Regions from separate parts of the Homo sapiens genome. Here all the other regions are linked to region 3. Evidence: promoter capture Hi-C in human tissues and cell types (Jung and others, 2019). All regions are on one chromosome and are shown on one strand. Each heading gives the region's core, a stretch centred on a gene start or on the middle of the fragment in contact. The rest is flanking DNA. Distances are from core to core; before and after follow the strand shown.

The links. Contacts are between HindIII fragments. The study calls those that stand out against the background at their distance.
Region 1: a fragment that was not itself captured here is called in contact with the fragment with the promoter of CYYR1 in region 3 in 3 of the 25 tissues and cell types used here (H1 embryonic stem cells, heart left ventricle and mesenchymal stem cells).
Region 2: a fragment that was not itself captured here is called in contact with the fragment with the promoter of CYYR1 in region 3 in 1 of the 25 tissues and cell types used here (dorsolateral prefrontal cortex).

The regions. Positions count from the first base shown.
Region 1 is chr21:26,527,013-26,530,684 of GRCh38, reverse strand. The region is part of intron 2 of CYYR1 (cysteine and tyrosine rich 1); the gene reads left to right. The region is part of intron 2 of CYYR1-AS1 (CYYR1 antisense RNA 1); the gene reads right to left. Among named protein-coding and RNA genes, the nearest start is that of CYYR1, 44 kb to the left of the region's middle. The HindIII fragment of the contact is 3,105 bases long and covers 76-3,180 here.
Region 2 is chr21:26,630,332-26,633,860 of GRCh38, reverse strand. No RefSeq gene overlaps it. Among named protein-coding and RNA genes, the nearest start is that of CYYR1, 59 kb to the right of the region's middle. The HindIII fragment of the contact is 4,999 bases long and covers 1-3,529 here.
Region 3 is chr21:26,571,772-26,575,213 of GRCh38, reverse strand. CYYR1 (cysteine and tyrosine rich 1) reads left to right here and starts at 1,928. Exons shown (of 4, transcript NM_001320768.2): 1 at 1,928-2,346. The coding sequence starts at 2,274. The HindIII fragment of the contact is 7,865 bases long and covers 1-3,442 here.

The DNA of each region.
Region 1 (3,672 bases), core at 379-2,878, 44 kb after region 3:
GTTGAACAATGAGAACACATGGGCACAGGGAGGGGAACATCACACACCGGGGCCTGTCGAGGGGTTGGGGGATAGGGGAGGGATAACATTAAGAGAAATACCTCATTTAGATGACAGGTTGATGGGTGCAGCAAACCACCATGGCACGTGTATACATATGTAACAAACCTGCACGTTCTGCACATGTATCCCAGAACTTAAAGTATAATTAAAAAAAATAAAATTAATATTATAAAATGCCCAATAAACTCACATTTTAAGGCTAAATTTAAAACAAAATCCTAACAATTAAAAGAAAAACTATAACTGGAGGCAACATTTGCAGAAAATGCTGCAGACAAAAATGATTTTTATAGTTATTTATATTATACTTACAACTTTCTCTTTAAGTTTAGGATTACTTCAAAATTAAAAAGTATATATTTATGAATAAAAAATAATTTTATTATGGGCAAAACAATCATTCAGGCTGCTGGAGCAGATTGAATTCTGTAAGTAGTTTCTCAACTCAGTTGGCTTTCAGAACATACAAATACAAGCAAAATTGTCTGGCAAAACTAAGCTTCACAGTAATATCCAAAGTCATACAGCTTAGGTTTGCCCTAGTCTCTGATAGAAGAATGGTTTATTTATTTACTATAGTTGTAGAGTTGTTTACCAACACTTATGTATGTCAACATATGTCAGTATTTCCGTTGATATATATTAATGTTTCAACACATTTCATCATTGTCACTAGAAAAGATGGGATGGGTAGCCATAACATAAAGTTTTCAAGAAAGGAGCCTTTGAGGATAAACTATTCAATGTTACCAAAGGTCTAAGGGCTAACTCTGTAACCTCTGTGAATACACAGCTCTGCCCCTCCATCATTCCAGCAAACAGCTAAGTGCTTAATAAGATAAAATCCAATAGCATTGAACCACAGTGACCTGTGTCAAAAATAGCACTATGTACAGCTGATAATTTTTAATTAAATGAAATAGAGACTGATGATATCATTCTTGGCTGTTGCAAACCGCACTCCCCTATGTTTTCAGGATCTGCATTTATATGCACTATGCTACTGGTTCAGCTAGCCTGCAAGTCTGCAAGAGGGCACCTATTCCCAAACCATGCTAATGAGTGCTGCTGGATCCAGCAAAAGCACACTTGGTACAGATTTAATCCATTTTAGGCAAAGCTAAGAGTTATCATTTGTAGTTGAAATTTATATAAAATTGTGGTTACCTGTTTTCTTCATGAATTACTTTATAAATGCATTGCATGGCATTTGTTGAATGAGTGAGTGCTTCCAATGTATATTAATATGTGACTCTGTTTATAAAAGGTAATTTATAGCCAGTTTATCAGAAATGCAATTATTTCATAAAACTCTGTATATCATTCTAAAAAAGATGCAAAAGAAACATATGTAAGATTATCTAATGTGATAAACATAGAATGGACTTTGAGCTAGACATGCTTCTATTCAAATTGCCACCTCTAAATGCCACTTACTGAGTGACCTTAGGCAAGTTACTAACCTCCTCTGACCCTCACTTTCATTATATGTTAGGAAACAGTGGTAATACACATCTACTGAATGGTTGTGACTAATAAGTACTATATATAAAGTATCAGTGTAAGAGTCATCACAAGGAAAAACTGAGTAATTATTTTAATCTCACCTGTGGCCCTTTGTTTGCTTCTAATAATGGACTGTGTTTGCATGAAACATACTAAACCAACAAAATTTTGTAGTGTTAGCCCACCTGTTCCAGAGAAATCTCTGTTGAAAAGGCTTATAAGAGATCTTTTTGAATGTTCCTCCATCTCTTACATGTTTTCTTCTCTGATGGCCACATATAATCAGTACTTAAGCTCCCGTAACTGTAGGTCAAATTGATTTCTGATCAAGAAGTTGCTCCTCTTTAAATATATAAATAATTGTACCATCCAATAGATTGAACTGAGTCTTAGACTTTCCCTTTTCCCCTCATTTTAAGTGCTTTACAAAGTTGCTGTGTTAGTTCATTCCTTCATTTCTGTAAAGACTTGAGGAAGGGTAATTTATGAAGGAAAGAAATTTATTTTGGCTCATGGTTCTACAGGCTGTACAGGAAGCATAGCACTGGCACCCGGTTCTGACGAGGGCCTCAGGAAGCTTCCACTCATGGCAAAAGGCAATTGAGGAGCAGGCACATCATATGGTGAGAGAAGGGGCAAAAGAGGGAGAGCAGGAAGGAGCCAGTCTCCTTTAAACAACCAGCTCTTGCTTGAACTACCAGAGCAAGAACTCCCTCCTTACCATGAGAGTGGCACCAAGCCATTCCTGAGGGACCTGCTCCATGACCTAAACACCTCTCACTAGGCCCACCTCCAACACTAAGGATCACATTTCAACACGAGATTTGGAGGGGACACATATCCAAATCATATCAGTTGCATTAACAAATTTCTGGAAAATAGTATTTAATAGGAATTTCTAAAAGAAATCAAAGCTTTAAAAGGTAAACCTTTTGAACTAAAAAAAGATATTTAGCTATTAACAAAAATGATGTTATTTTTTGGAATACAATGAATATTTTTATTTCTATTCTGTCAAAATTGTTTTTCTGTAGTGATATTTGCTTCTTTTTGATTGACTGTGGACTAAGATTTCTACCAGGATGTCTCTGGATTTTTACTCGTTTTAAGTGTTGCTGAATTTTTTTCCTTTACTCTTTATTTATAGAATTTCTGTAGTTTATTTTTGAAATTTCTATATGACACTTTTATGAAACAGTTCATTCCTTTGTCATTTTTAAAAAGGTAATGATGGCTTAGCCTTCATTATCCCTGACTTCGCAGAATATTATATTTCTAGAAAATCAACAGGTGCACACACCCTCAAATCACTGGACTATTATTTGAACAAAATATTCTCCCGGGACCTATAAAAGATTCTGATACCTCAAACCTGAATTTAGCTTTGAATTTGGCAGCAGTACTCTTTATACAATAGCAGTGTTCTGGAGGAGCTGAGCTTTCTTTATATATGATTCATCTGGCCATATTCAGGCAAAATAAAAGAAATGTACAAAAGTAGCAATGAAATGGAGTATATTCATGCCAACATAAGCCATTTTTACTGGATGATAAAAACACATATTTTCAATAATAATTGTCCATATAATGAAAAATTTCTAAATTCAGGAAAAATATAAAAAGCTGCCTATTCTGCATTTTTTTTGTTGGCTTTCTAACCTTTGAGGTTTGTACAGCACTCAATAAGTAAAATTAAAAGTGATTTGACTTTATTTGGTTATGTAAATTGGGTTATATTTTACAGAATTAAAAGGTATCAATTTTACCCAACTTCATGCCTTTAAAAAAGAGGCCATAATACTTGAGAAATTATGCCTGGTTAATTCCAAATTCCAAACCCTAGTTTATTGATGAGACTACTTATTTTGGTAATATGTTGGCCTGGGGAGAAAGCAAGAGGGAAACTGGCAGTGTTTCTGGCCTTTACTGTAGCTCTAATTTGTTCCAAATGTCCAAATGCCTTTATATGTGTTTCTCGTGCAGAATAGAGTTACGTGGGATAGCCCAGCATCCCCTGACTTCTGATCACTCATGTTGTGAACACACTTGCATATTGGGAAGAAAAAAAGGCCCAGATCCTTTTCACCTTTGGGGTCAACTTTA
Region 2 (3,529 bases), core at 357-2,856, 59 kb before region 3:
TTCTAGGGTAATAATAATGTTTTATGTCATAATGTTTATATCCATTTATCAAAATCCATTGAATTTAATCCCTAATATCTACGCATTTCACAATATGTAATTTTTATTTCAATTTTACAAAAACAGCGTGACATCTGGAAGATGGTGGAATAGAACTTTTCTGCACTTGTCTTCTCTCAGGAAACTTAATTGGAACTATCCAAGCACAAAAATATACAAGAGCTAAGGAGTCCAGGTAAGAGATTATAATATCTCAGCGTAGCATAGAAATAAGGAAAGACACATTGAAGAGAGCAAGAAAGACAGTCTTATATTACTGGCATCATCCCTCCCCCAAGCCTGCATAGCACAGCAAAGAGAGAGACACCTTCTGCCTGAGAAAAAGAATAAGTACTTGACTTTGCTATAGACCTTAGCACCAGGCCTGCCCCAGTAAAATCCAGTATCAGGCTATTCCTCATGGCTCAGGCTTCAGGCTAGCTTCTATGACCCAAGTCATCAGGCCCATCCCGGTGCCAGGATGATTCCCATCACCACCGGCTACAGGCCTATCCCACCACCAGGCCTTGGCATTAGGTTAGCGCCCATGACTCAGTGCTCCAGCAGACCAAGAGTCCAGGCCTGCCTTAGCAGGCCCCAGTGCCAGGCTGGAACCCATGGACCAAGGCTCTAGGACCACTCTGGTGGATGCAGGCTCCAGGACTGCCTCAGCACCAGACTGGTGCCTGCAGTCCCAGGTTTCACTGGACCCAGGGTCCAGGCTGCCCCAGAAAATCTAGGGATCCAGCTCACCTGGGTAAACTCCAGTCCTAGGCTGGCCTCTATGGGCAGACTCAAGGCATATCCCTGAATAGCCAGTTGACAAGCCTACCTTAGTGGGCCCTGACACCCAGATGGCCCATGTGAACTCAGGCTGCAGGCCTGCCCCCAGCAAACCCAAAGTCCAGACCATCCCATGTGGAGCCAATTCCAGGCCTACTCACTTGTTGACCTAGGTATCAGGTTACTCTGCCCAAGGACTCCAGCAGCAAGCCTGCACATGGAATCTAAGTCAGGCTGCCTAGAATTTCTAGACAGGCTAATTTACGAAGAGCTCTTCCTGCCAAAGCCATTCTGTAAAGACCGGAAAGATGCTTACTTCCTAAAATGTATAGATATCAGTACAAGGCCACAAAAATCATGAATAATTAGAGAAACATGACACCACCAAAGGAGCAAAATAAGACACCAGTAACCAACCCTAAAGAAATGAAGATCTATGAACCACTTGACAAAGAATTCAAAATAACCATCTTAAGCTCATTGAGGCTGGGCACAGTGGCTCACACCTGTTATCCCAGCACTTTAGGAGGCCAAGGCAGATTGATCACTTGAGGTCAGGAGTTTGAGACCAGCCTGGCCGAATAGAGAAACCTCATCCCTACTAAAAATAGAAAAATCAGCCAGGCATGGTAATGGGCACCTGTAATCCCAGCTAATTGGCAGGCTGAGGCAGCAGAATCACTTGAACCCAGGAGGCAGAGGTTGCAGTGAGCCGAGATCATGCCATTGCACTTCATCCTGGACAATAGAGTGAGACTCTGTCTCAAAAAAAAAAAAAAAAAAAAAAAAAAAAAAAAAAAGGAGCTCATTGAGCTATAAGAAATAACTAAATTATATTAGATATTAAGACAACTAAATTTATTAGAAAAACAATAAATGAACAAAGTGAGAAGTTCAAAGAAGAGATAGAAACCATAAAAAAAGAACCAAACAGAAATTCTGGAGCTAAAGAACACAATGAGTCTACTGAAAAATTTCATAGAGAGCTGTTCAACAGCAGACCCAATCAAGCATAAGAAAGAATCTGTGAGCTTGAAGCCAGATCACTTTAATTATTCAGTCAGAGGAACAAAAGGAAAAAGAATTTTAACAAGTTAAGGAAGATTATAGGATTTATGGGACATCATAAAGTAAACCAATATACACATTTCAGGGTACCAGAAGGAGGAGAAAAAGAGAAAGGGACAGATTGCTTACTTTAAGTAAAAAAATGACAGAAGACTTCTCAAATCTAGAATGGGAAATGAACCCCTAGATCCATGAAGCCCAAAGATACTCAAATATATTAAATACCAGATCTTCACCAAGATCCATTATTACCAAATTCTCAAAAGTCAGTGACAAACAGAATTTTGTAAGCAACAAGAAAAAATCAGTTCTTCACATTCAAAGAACCCCCATAAGACTGTTAGTGTATTTCTCAGCAGAAATTTTGTAGGCCAGGAGAAAATTGGATAATGTATTCAAAATAGTAAAAGAAAACAACTTCTAATCAAAAATGTTATACCCAACAAGGCTGTCCTTCAAAAATAATTGTTAAAATAAGATAAATTTTTTCAAACAAACAAAAGCTGAGGGAGTTCATCACACTAGATTTACCTTACAAGAAATGTAAACTAAAGTTTTTCAGGTTGAAACAAACATATGCTAACAACATGAGGACATACAAAAATGTAAAACTCACTGTAAAGTTTTGATACTCTACTGTCAAGTTTAGATACTCTACTAAACTGTAATACAACCAGAATACTGTCATCATGGTTTATAAATCACTTTTAACTCATATAAGTTAAAATACAAAGTATAAAAGTAACTATAGCTATAAAAATTTGTTAATTTGATACAAAATATATTAAAAAATATAAATTGTTACATCAGTAACATAAAATGTAAGGAAGTGAAAAGTTAAAAAACGGAGTTTTTGTATTCAATAGAAGTTATCAGCTTAAAATAGACTGCTATAACAATTAGATGTTTATGTAAGCCCCATGGCAACCACAAGGAAAAAAACCTGTAAATGATACACAAAATATAAGAAAAAAAAAAATGAAATCATGCCACTACAAAAATTATCAAATCATGAAGAAAGACAGCAAGAGGGAGAATGGAATAGAGGAACTACAAAAGAGTTACAAAACGTTTTTAAAACGGCAGTGGTAAATCCTTACCTATCAACAATTACCTTAAATGTAAGTGGATTAAATTCTCCAATAAAAAAATACAGCTCAGGAAAAGCAGGGAAAAAAAGAAAATAATGTTACAAACAATAAGACAAAAAAAGTTTTAAAATAAAAAAATATGTATATATTTAAAATAAAAAAATATATATATATACACACACACACACACATACACACACATTGGCTGAGTTGATTTTTTAAAAACAGAAATTCAACTAAATACTGCCTACAAGAAACTGATTTTAGTTGATGCTATGGTTTAAGTGTTTGTGTGTTCTTCAAAATTCATTTTGAAACTTGATCCCCAGTGCAACAGTATGAAGAGGTGAGGCTTTAGGAGTGATTTGACTATGAGGGCAAAGCTCTCCTAGAAGGGACTAGTGCCTTATGAAAGGGCTTGAGGGAGTGAGATTGCCCCTTCCATCCCTTTTTCCCTTCCACGTTTCACCATGTGAGAACACAGCCACAAGATGCCATCATGGAAGAAGAGGGAAAGCCTTCATCAGAAGCCAAATCTACTAAGGCTT
Region 3 (3,442 bases), core at 679-3,178:
CCTAAGGGCAACAGGATGCTACTGAGTGAGTGAACATGATGAAATCTGTAGTTTAAGAAGAAATATTCCAGCTTCAGTCTGGCAAACATCTCTGAAGGCAGGGAGGCTGAATATAATCAAGACTATAAAAGTCTAGATTAGGACAGAAATAGATGATAATTTAAAATGCGTTTGGGTGGTGTTCAGGTGGACAGATTAGGTGAACTTGGTGATAGATTGGCCAGCGAGGATGAGAAAAAAGGTGGAACTGATCAGCCTTCTTTAGAACATGGTGGATGGTTGGGCCTTCACCAACGTGTAAAACACAGTAAAGAGCTTAGCTTATGTTTATTTTGGGGGTGATGTTTCCTCCCACTCTCGTATTCCCTTGCAGCACTGCATTTACAGGAAAAAATTCCTGGAAGAGAACTGACTAAATTAAGTACATGTGTATTTGAATTTTCGTACATATAACCACACCGTTTCCCTTAAGAGTTCATTTGGTTTTGTATTTGGTTGGTTTGATACATGAAAAGTGATGTCTCACTGTCAATTTTATTTCTATATTTATATTTATTTGTTTTGTATGAAGTGTCTATTAATATCCTTCCTCAGTTATCTCTTGGTTGTTTTTCCTATTGATTTTTTTAAGCTCAGTATAATAATGAGATTAGGACTTTGCATTGCAAATATTTTTGCCAGTTAAATGTCTGCCAACTGGAAGTATTAATTCTTATTTAGTCAAGTTGGTCAATATTTTGTTTTATGGTTTCTGAGTTTTTTATAATGCTTAGAAAAGGCTTCCCTATTCCACAATTATTTGAATGTTATCCTCTTATTTTTTAATCTAATATTTTCATAGTTGTATCTTAAATATGTAATTCATATAGAACTGATTTTGATGTAAAAAGATAAGGCTCCACAGATGGCTATTTACGGCCTCAACACTTTTCACTGAGTAACTCATCATTTCCCCTACTACTTTACATTGATATTTCTTTAAACCATAAATTAAATTGCTGTACATACTCATGTCTACTTTTGGGTTACCTTTTCTCTTTCACTAAGCCTATCTATTCCAATGTTAATCTAAACTGTTTTAATTATTGTGATATTATATGTAATATCCCATTCATTATTCCCATTCATTACTCTTGTTTTAAATAGATATTCTTACATATTTATTTTCCATATAAACTTTAGAATCAGATTGGTTTGAAAAAAATCATGTTATTTTAAAAATTGGGATCAATTTTATTTCCAAATGTATATAATAATTTGGGGAATCTTGTTGTCTTTATCCTACTAAATTTTCTTAGTGAAAAAAGTATCTCTTTACTTATTCGTATCATTTTTTTTCCTTCATGCATAACATTGAGAACTTTCTGATTTTTGTTTGCAGGAAAGAAAACTATTGGTTTGCTAAACAAGAGCTTTATAGTTGATTAACTTTGATTTTCCATGTATACACGTATTTCATTTGCTAATGACAATTTAGCTTTCATTTTTCATAAATCTTTTTCTTTCTCTTGTTTAATTGCATAGGCCAGTAACTCCAAAACGTCAAAATCATAACGACAGTGTGCACTGTTGTGTTTTTTTTTTCTGAATTTACAGGAAAAAATAATAAACATTTTATCAGCTTTCAGCAGAGATGCCATACACTTTCTGTACTTCCCAATCCTGAGTTTTCTTCACTGTCACTCTTTGTCGAATACCTTCAACCCTGAAAATTCCTTCCCTTTGTTTAAAGATAAAAAGCAAAGTTGTTCATCCATTGCTTAGAAAGGAAAAATTGTAGTGGAGGCAAGGTTAAAAAGGAGCAGGCTGAACTCCATAGCAATCGCCAAAGCAAGGGGTTAGGAAAAGTTTCTTGGTCCCCTAGTCACTCTTTAGAAGGAAGAACCCGGGCTTGGGGAGGAGTCGGGGCCACCCCCGCCCCCTGCCCGCAGTCGTTGCCACCCGCGGAGATGAAATGTGAGCCTGGGTGGCCAAGGACGCCGGAGTGGCCGCCTTCCCCGCGCCTGAGCGCAGTGGGGCGAGACAAAGAGACCTGGGCCCCCAGCGCAGCCCGTCTCGGGCCACGGGCGCCCCAGCTCCGCGGAGTCCCGCAGTCGCTGGCCCGGGACGCGCCCGGCCCGGGCTCCCTTGGAAGGCTCCCTAGGCAATGGCCGGGTCTCTGCTCCACCCGGCTCTCAGGAGCGCTGCTCTCTCCATCTGATCGCCCTCCATCCTCCCCATTCCCTCCGGTTCCGGGCTCTCCCTTCGCTCCAAGCCTCAGGCCACCGGCTTGGATGGACGCTCCGAGGCTACCCGTGCGTCCAGGGGTCTTGCTTCCGAAGTTGGTCCTGCTCTTTGTCTACGCAGGTCAGTGACGGAGGGCGGCGGAGAGGGTCAGAGGCTCGGGGCTGCCCTTGGGTCACGGTCCGGGCTAACGTGGGTTGAGCTGGACGGACCGGGACCTTTGCAGAAGGACCTTTGCAGACGCTTCTGCCTTTTCCGCGAGGCGACGGCAGAAACCCGCGCACTTCCAGCCGCACGCGGTTTTGTTTTGTTCCTTTTCCTTTAACTTTTACCTTTTGCATTTCTTTTCTTTCCCTTTCCACCTTGGAAATAGCAGTCTCGTGTTTAGGGGATTTGACTCTCTGGATAGAGTAAACTATATCCAAATAAACTTATCTGGATAGGCTAGGCAGTGGCCTCTCCATCTTCTGCTTTCTAAATAGTCCTGGTTTTCCCTCTTGTGAATAAAAAAAACTTAGAGCTTTGTTTTCGTTCTTTGGGAGATTCACAAGTGTGGTAGACTGAGCTATTGGACTGAAGTCAAACACAAGGTTTTTGAGAAGCATGAATTCACCCAGGGTCTAATCTGTACAGGTTCGTTGATTTAGATAGACACTTGTTTATAAGAGAAGGGCATCTGGTTTCCCTTCTAATTATTCGTAGTAAGAACTGCTAATAATTAACGAAGCAAAGTGGGTTTTCTTGTTTGTGATTAATATGGAGCCCCAAATGGCCTTTCATTGGTTATTCAGGTATAAAGTGTCTTACACACGTGGTCTTTGCATCAGTTCATATTCACAAAACAATGCAAGCTAAAAGCAAAGTTCTTTGTAAAATGTTTTTGTGTCTCTAACGTCCTATGACAAAAATCGCAGGCTCACCCCTGAGCCTCCAATACGAAATGTATATATAGCACTGAAATTTACCTTTGATACTCAAAAAGATATTGCAACTGAAATGATGTTCTTCAGTGTTGCACCTGAGTATTAAAAGAATTGAATTTCTCATTCAACCTTGCTAGAAAAGAGTCACCATAACTTCTGTAGACATTTTTAGCCTGTTTATTGAAATGCAAATTAGTGGCTGTCTAGGAGTTACCATTTTAAAGATGTTTTATGGCAGGAAAAATGCTGACCTTCTAATATGAAAATTCATAAAAGTAGGATAAGTTCTTCGTATT